2 separate regions of the Homo sapiens genome follow, and region 1 is linked to region 2. Evidence: promoter capture Hi-C in human tissues and cell types (Jung and others, 2019). All regions are on one chromosome and are shown on one strand. Each heading gives the region's core, a stretch centred on a gene start or on the middle of the fragment in contact. The rest is flanking DNA. Distances are from core to core; before and after follow the strand shown.

Region 1 (4,318 bases), core at 746-3,245, 1.0 Mb before region 2:
TTGGCTGGTGGTCAAAAATAAAAATATTACTTTTATAAGTAATATAAAAGAAACTGTTTTAAAATAAATTCTCTCTCTTTTTAAAATACAAAACATAAAAGAAAAACTCATGAATTTGGGCCCTAACCCCAAGGATAAATTGCTCTGCCTGCTGACTCAAGAAATCAGCATGACCCTAAGGGACCAAAGAGATAATAAAAGTCCAGTTTCAATGCAAAACCCATGTAATCAAGGACAGAGAGGCCTAATGCAGGGGAGACTCAAGAAGTCTCAGATGCGCATATTATTACCAAGGGTTCTGGTTCACGGCACCGAGGATCTTGGCCATACCTCCATGATACTGTTCCAGCCCAATCAGCCTCAGACCATCAGGGACAAACCTGTAGTTGAAAGAAGTACGGTTTACTGACTTGCTGCAACAAGAGAGACTGCACATCAGAGAAACTATGAGATGTCTCACCAAACAGAAGAAAAGATAAGATAAGGGGCTGGGCATGGTGGCTCAAGCCTATAATCCCAGCACTTTGGGAGGCCAAGAAGGTCTGATCACTTGAGCCCAGGAGTTTGAGACCAGCATAGCAACGTGGTGAAACCCTGTCTCTACAGAAAATACAAAAATATTAGCCTGGTGTGCTGTCATGCGCCTGTGGTCCCAGCTACTCAGGAGGCTGAGGTGGGAGGATCACTTGAGCCCAGGAGGTGGAGGCTGCAGTGAGCTGTAATTGCACCATTGCACTCCAGCCTGGGCTACAGTGAGACCCTATGTCCAAAAAAAAAAAAAAAAAAAAAAAAGATAGGGACTGGGCATGGTGGCTCACACCTGTAATCCCAGCACTTTGGGAGGCCAAGGCAGGCAGATCATGAGGTCAAGAGATCAACACCATCCTGGCCAACATGGTGAAACCCTGTCTCTACTAAAAATACAAAAATTAGCAGGGCATGGTGGCACATGCCTGGAGTCCCAGCTACTCGGGAGGCTGAGGCAGGAGGATCACTTGAACCTGGGAGGCAGAGGCTGCAGTGAGCCCAGATCACACCACTGCACTCCAACCTGTCGACAAGAGGGAGACTCTGTCTCAAAAAAAGAAAAAAAGATAGGATTTGGGGAAGAGAGACATTTAGGTGAAAATTAAATAAAGCAGTATTTTGATAGGATCAAAGCAAAATAGGGTTGTATGTAAAGTGGGACAACATCAGATCTGGACTGCAAAGGAGAACAGGTTCCTGTTTCTTTTCTTTTTCTTTTCTTTTTTTTTTTTTTTTTTGAGACAGAGTGCAGTGGCACAACCTCGGCTCACTGCAGCCTCCGCCTCCTGGACTCAAGCTATCCTCCTGCCTCAGCCTCCTGAGTAGCTGGGACCACAGGTGCCTGCCACCACACCCAGCTAATTTTGTTATTTTTAGTAGAGACGGGGTTTTGCCATGTTGGTCTCGAACTCCTGACCTCAGGTGATCTGCCTGCCCCGGCCCCTCAAAGTGCTGGGATTACAGGGGTGAGCCACCACGCCTGGCCATGGTTCCCGTCTCTTTGGGTACTAGGAAGTTAAGGTGGAATGTTGTTTTCAGAAAGTCCTTCTCTGAAGCTTTGCACCTGGATTGGAAATCAAAGTTGCTTCTTTGTGCCTTAGATGTTCCAAGTAAGAGTGGGATATTTCATTTTTCCTGACATAATTTCCGTGGTTTCTGGTCTATCATTTCAGGGAACTAAGCTTCTCAGTCAGAGACAAAACAGTAGTCACACCAGCAAGGGGGTTGTTTTTATGCTTTACAGCTGCAGCATGTCCTTGAGAGAAACATTATTTCTCTTTAACTTTGCAGCTAACTTTATTTGTATGTGTCCTCCCAGATTCATGCATAGCGGGGCATATTTTTATTTTCTCAGTCCCAGCTAATTTATTTTCTCAGTTTTAAAGCCTGCAGAAATGGGCCAGGCACCGTGGCTCACTCCTGTAATGCCAGTACTTTGGGAGGCTGAGGTGGGCGGATCACTTGAGGTTAGGAGTTCGAGACCAGCCTGGCCGACATGGTGAAACCCTGTCTCTACTAAAAAGACACAATTAGCTGAGCGTGGCGGCAGGTGCCTGTAGTCCCAGCTTCTCAGGAGGCTGAGGCAGGAGAACCGCTGGGACCCGGGAGGCAGAGTTTGCAGTGAGCTGAGATCAAGCCATTGCACTCCAGCCTGGGTGACAGAGCGAGACTGTCTCAAAAAATAAAATAAAATAGCCTGCAGAAATGGTGAGATAGTGTTCTCTCTAACACCATTCAGGACAGAAAGAAAAAAAAGAAAAAGAAAACGAATAAGCATTGAGATTTTATAGATCAACTGGTACATAGATGGTCTTGATAAACTTTTCCACAGGAATCCAAGATAGGGAAAACACCTTTGAACACAATACTGGCATGCAGGTTGATGTACAGAAAAGGGCACAGGCTTTCTAGCCAGTCAGGTTTGAATTCTGTCTCTAACAGGACAAGACATGGGCAAATCATTTGTCCTTGCTGAGGTTTTCATTAACAGATATTCATGGAGCAAGTTACTCTACAAGGCTCTAAACTGGATTTCTCTCATCAGGATTATTGTGAGAATTAAGTATGTTAGCAGGCGAATATATTTAGCACTGTTCCTGTCCCCCAAAATATACTACCCTGAGTTTTGAAATGTAAAGAAAAGTCTGGAGGAGGAGACTGTCGACTCATTGGCGGTCAGGATCCTAACAAATAGGGGCAGAAATGATTGCAGCTTGCACGAGGGGAGCAGGAGTCTAAGGATAATCTTTAAGAACCAGAGACAGCCGGGTGTGGTGGCTCACGCCTGTAATTCCAGCACTTTGGGAGGCCGAGGCAGGCGGATCACGAGGTCAGGAGATCGAGACCATCCTGGCTAACACGGTGAAACCCCGTCTCTACTAAAAATACAAAAAATTAGCCGGGTGTGGTGTCGGGCGCCTGTAGTCCCAGCTACTCAGGAGGCTGAGGCAGGAGAATGGCGTGAACCCGGGAGGCGGAGCTTGCAGTGAGCCGAGATCGCACCACTGCACTCCAGCCTGGGCAACAGAGGGAGACTCCACCACAAAAAAAAAAAAAAAGAACCAGAGACAAGGCCGCGAGCGGTGGCTCACTCCTGTAATCCCAGCACTTTGGGAGGCCAAGGTGAGCGGATCACGAGGTCAGGAGATCGAGACCATCCTGGCCAACACGGTGAAAACCCCGTCTCTACTAAAAGTAGAAAAAAAATTAGCTGGGCGTGATGGCGGGCGCCTGTAGTCCCAGCTACTCGGGAGGCTGAGGCAGGAGAATGGCGTGAACTCGGGAGGCAGAGCTTGCAGTGAGCCAAGATGGCGCCACTGCCCTCCAGCCTGGGCGACAGAGCGACTCCGTCTCAAAAAAAAAAAAAAAAGAACCAGAGACATATGGTATGTTATTTTTCCTAAAATGATCTTTTTCATATATTAATATTTCTGAAATCAGGATACAACTTAAAATCTTTCATGTATATTTAATAGGGTATTTCTTTTTCTTTTTCTTTTTCTTTTTTTTTTTTGAGGTAGAGTCTCCCTCTGTTGCCCAGGCTGGAGTGCAGTGGCGCGATCTCGGCTCACTGCAAGCTCCGCCTCCCAGGTTCACGCAATTCTCCTGCCTCAGCCTCTTGAGTAGCTGGGACAACAGGCGCCTGCCGCCTCGCCCGGCTAATTTTTTGTATATTTAGTAGAGACGGGGTTTCACTGTGTTAGCCAGGATGGTTTCGATCTGCTGACCTCGTGATCTGCCCGCCTCTGCCTCCCTAAGTGCTGGGATTACAGGCGTGAGCCACCGCGCCCGGCCTAAAAATTTTTTTTTGAGACAAGGTATTGCTTTGTTGCCCAGGCTGAAGTCCATTGATGTGGTCATGGCTCACTGCAGCTCGACCTCGTGGGCTGAAGCTATCCTCCTGCCTTAGCCTCCAGAGTAGCTGAGACTACAGGCACACACCACACACTGAGGCGGGCAGAGGCTGAGGCAGGAGGATTGCTTGAGCCCAGGAGTTTGCAGCTGCAATGAGTCGTGAATGTACCACCGCACTGTAGCCTGAGAAACAGAGCGAGAGCCTGTTAAAAAAATAGATAGGGCCGGGCGTGGTGGCTCACGCCTGTAATCCCAGCACTTTGGGAGGCCGAGGCGGGTGGATCATCTGAGGCCAGGAGTTCGAGACCAACCTGGCCAAACATGGTGAAACCCCGTCTCCACTAAAAATACAAAAAAATTAGCCGGGCGTGGTGGCAGGCGTCTGTATTAGCAGCTACTCGGGAGGCGAGGGAGGAGAATCGCTTGAACCCGGGAG
Region 2 (4,294 bases), core at 954-3,453:
TTCTGCAAATTTTCAAAGTATATAGCCTGTGAGGAAGGTACATCATACAAAAGATCAGCTCCAGGTTCAATAGTGACACCTTCATATCCACTCTGGTTCTCTGTGTGCTTATCAGTTTGTAATTCAGTAAGGTTGCCTATGGTAGTAATGCTGAGTTTGTTTTTGATACTTTCCGAGCAAAGATTTTCAGTGGCAAAGTCTGTAGCATGTTTCTTATGTTCAGGGAGTTGCATATATTTTTGTTCCAGGTCGTCAACTTGAGCTATAAAGGAGTTTTCAGTAAAGCTATCATAGTCACCAAACATGTCCACTTCACTGTCATTAGGCTGCAAAGAGAACAAAAACGCTTATGGTCAATTCCAGTTTCATTAAGAATAAAAGCTTCACCAGCCTGGCCAACATGGTCAAACCCCGTGTCTACAGAAAATACAAAAATTAGCCGGGCATAGTGGCATGCTCCTGTAATCCCAGCTACTCGGAGGCTCAGGCAGGAGAATTGCTTGAACCTGGGAAGCGCAGGTTGCGGTAAGCCCAGATCGCGCCATTGCACTCCAACCTGGGCAACAGAGTGGGACTCTGTCTCAAAAAAACCAAAACAAACAAACAAACAAAACCCCCAAAAAACACTTCAGCCTAGGGCTGTACCAAGTATATAATTATATGGTCACATATGGATCACAGACCTATATGTAAATAGATATCTTACAGCTGAAGAAATGGAGGCCCAAAGAGGTTAAATTACTTGCCTAAACAGCAGGTTCAGGAGTGTTACGATGATACTGAGATTCTAATTTTTGAGACAGGGTCTGGCTCTGTCACCCAGGCTGGAGCACAGTGGCTCCAGCCACTGCACGATCACAGCTCACTGCAGTCTTGACATCCTGGGCTCAAGCGATCCTCCTGCCTCAGCCTCCCAAGTAGCTAGGACTACAGGTGCAGGCCACCACACCCGGCTAATTAAGAAAAAAAAATTTTTTTTTTTTTTTGTAGAGACTGGGTCTCTGTTGCCTAGGCTGGTTTTGAACGCGAACTTCTGGGCTTAAGTGATCCTCCCATCTCTGCCTCCTAAAGCACTGGGATTATAGGCATGAGCCACTGCACACGGCCAGATTGTAATTCTTAAAGCTGTACTAAAACAGCAGGAAGACTGGTAGACGTCTACTGAAATGTCAGCGCATTCGAAGTTTCTGATAACTGCAGCGCTTCCCTCCCAGACTACAATCTACAGTGACTGGCCTCTAACAGAAACATGGTTGTACCACTAGACACTCCAAGGAGTTCCTAGGAATTTGGAATTGAGACTGAGAAACTGAATACTGACTTGGAGTGGTCTGCTACACAGAAGACACACAAACCTGGAGGCAGCAATATAGTAAAGTGATTAAGACAACAGGATTTGGAGCAAGAACTGTACTATCTCAACTTTTCAGGGCCTGATTACTGTCGTAAAATCTAGATAATATAACTAGCTTAACATAACGGGTCTTCAATAAACAGCAGATTTTATTTGTACAGTAGGAGCTGCAGTTATCTGGAAGCCTAGATTTGTGTCTCAGTCATGCCACTTAACTGCTGCGTGCACAACTTTTATGTCTCGGGGTTTACATTTCATATTTATATAGAAATGTAAATAACAAGGCAATCAATACCTCCTAAGTGCCGATTAACAGTGGTAACGAAGACGAGAGAAGTAAACGAAGGCGATAAAACTGGTCAACTCTTTGCATCTGGGAAGGATGCCAAAAGTTTGCAGTTTCAAGTTCCAAGTCCTCCGTACCTGGTCTCCCACCCCTCTGTCAGTGGGCATGTGACGTAGGAGGTCCGGGTTTGTATCACCACCTCCAAGGACGAGACATTCCGGGGAATCTGAGAGTAGAAGGGGCTGTACCTCAACCGGCAGTACGCCCGCGGTTTTCCGCCTCCTGTTCTCAGCCACCATTTCCTCCTCCTCTTTCCCCTCATCTCCGGGCACGAGCTCGGCCGCGGTGGGAGCGCCAAAAATACACCCCAAGCTTGGACGGTTCCTTTTGGGGAGAGACACCCGCCGGCGGATGCGGGAACCACATTCATCCATGGCAAGGACCCAGGGCCCTATTCAGACGTCGTTCTCAGTGACCCAGACGCTAAGCCCATATGGAAGGGAGAGTGGGACGCCGGAGCCCGCTTCTACATCCACCTTGGGAAAAGACCCCAAGTTAGCTCTCAGGGCTCGCGGACCGGAAGCACGCATAAACTTCTACCCTGTCCAATCATAAGCCTCACGTGACCTGCCGCGTAGGGAGGGCACGAACAGAAAGGTGCTGCGCATGCGTATTGAAAAACCTCACCTACTCTCGCGGGTCCTCAGCGTTCTCCTGCGGAACCTTTGAACGGGGTACTCGAGCCCACAGGGGAAGAGCAGCGGAAGGGGCCTTTCGGAACGATTTGGAACGAAAGGAAGTGGAAGAAACGCGGAACCATGGCCGCTGTGGTTGCTGTTTGCGGTGGTCTAGGGAGGAAGAAGTTGACACACTTGGTAACGGCTGCTGTCAGCCTTACACATCCCGGGACTCACACGGGTAAAGTCTCCATATCCTATGCTCCATTGTAGCGCTGCAGGCATTAACCTTAGTCCTAATGGTTAGAGTCGTCCCTGTTAGCAAAACGACTCTGGTTTCTAGGCGATTAAGTTTCTCCAAGATGGGTGGGAATCTGTAATTGCCTTTGACTGTTTTAGTGTCGTCTAATCCACTCCTTTAAAGTATTTAAACGTATGAGGAAGTTGGAGTGGTTCTTAAAAAGCAGAGACTTTCCTAAGATCTCTGGATAATCTTAGTGAGGAAGGGACATTTCCAGAGTCGCCCAGCAGCAAATTCCAGATGTCTAAGGTCCCCAAACAGAACAAAATTGCATAATTTTTGCAATTTTATCTTCTCTGTGCTTCTCTATAAATTCTTTCTGGGACGGGTCTGTTACTTTCTTTTTGGTATGACAGTGCCTTTCTGTTGCTTCTCCTATAAGAATTTGCATTAAGAATTTTCTCTAACCATGGAATGAAGGGAAAATAAATGTCAGAAAGAGCAGGTATGGGCGGGAAAATATGTTCTTTTCCCCCTAAGCCCTGGAAAGCACACCCATGTTGAGTCTTACTCTGTCCCAAATATAAAAGTTTTTAACCATTCTGAATATAATACAAAACCTTTCTTTAATATCGTGTCCCTTAATTCATCCTGTCTCCATAAAAACAAAAATCTTTAGCTATTCAGCTAAGAAAAAGAAATGGTTAATTGCTGTTTCTGTTTAATCGCAGTGCTTTGGAGAAGAGGTTGTTCACAACAGGTATCCAGCAATGAGGACCTGGTAAGAATTTTTTTTTCTATTAGTAAGGCCTTTGCAAATATGACCAAAATGTTTTTCTTTTTAAAACGAGATCTGGTATTAGACTCTAACATCTTTTATTTTAGCTACTTGAATAGAGTTCTGCCGTAGGACAAAACAATTTGATAATTACTCTGAGTTCAGAAATGATGATGAATTGATTGTAGTCATGTAGTCAGCTGAGTTTTGAAGTAGGGGAATTCCTAGATTAGAAGCAAAGCTGCTATAATACCATATTTTTCTTCCTAGATCTTAAATTTAAGGATATGTGATTTGGGAATTGTTTTTTTTTTTTTTACATAGCCCTTTGTAAGCAAATGATATGGGAATTTTAAAAGGTAGTTTGGGTGAGCAGAATTTTAGATAACTGAAAAGAGACTGTACAAAGCTTAGCTATAGGTTGGCTATAGTATTAACATGGACTTTCTGAAAGCACAGGTTCTTGCTACATGCAAAGGTATTTTGACACTAATTAGACCATACAAAGCACTTGGCACAGAGCTGAAGAGTAGTTACGTGAGCTGAATGTAAATTGGAAAGTTTGAGGAATTGGAAAAAACAAAAGAACTTGTCTAGTTTCTCTGAGCATCTGTCTTGGTAATCTAATCCATGCACCATACTTTAAGAAAGTAAAGGGACATTATTTCTTTTTTAGTTCATAAATCCCACTTTGTCTCTAATCAAAGTTATGGACCCTCTCCACAGAAAAAGGCACACAGTCCCATTCATTTGAAGTTTTGCATACGATTACAGGGAGTCATGGGCTTCAAAGCCATTTCTAGATTAAGAACCTCTATCCTGGAGACAGCCATACTGACTGTAGGAAGGAGGCACTGTGACAAAAGCATTAGAGGCAGTGGTGGTAACAGAAAAGCCAAAAAGACTGATACAAACTTATATAGTAGCCTGGGGTGATAAAGTCAAAGAACCTTTTATT

Evidence for each region. Contacts are between HindIII fragments. The study calls those that stand out against the background at their distance.
Region 1: a fragment that was not itself captured here is called in contact with the fragment with the promoter of HELQ in region 2 in 1 of the 25 tissues and cell types used here (spleen).

Annotation. Positions count from the first base shown.
Region 1 is chr4:82,403,955-82,408,272 of GRCh38, forward strand. No RefSeq gene overlaps it. Among named protein-coding and RNA genes, the nearest start is that of HNRNPDL, 24 kb to the right of the region's middle. The HindIII fragment of the contact is 5,458 bases long and covers 1-4,318 here.
Region 2 is chr4:83,453,620-83,457,913 of GRCh38, forward strand. HELQ (helicase, POLQ like) reads right to left here and starts at 2,204. Exons shown (of 18, transcript NM_133636.5): 1 at 1,778-2,204; 2 at 1-326. The coding sequence starts at 2,074. MRPS18C (mitochondrial ribosomal protein S18C) reads left to right here and starts at 2,439. Exons shown (of 6, transcript NM_016067.4): 1 at 2,439-2,558; 2 at 3,290-3,339. The coding sequence starts at 2,459. RefSeq lists enhancers at 1,452-2,282, 1,711-1,760, 2,101-2,210, 2,197-2,491. The HindIII fragment of the contact is 3,157 bases long and covers 1,197-4,294 here.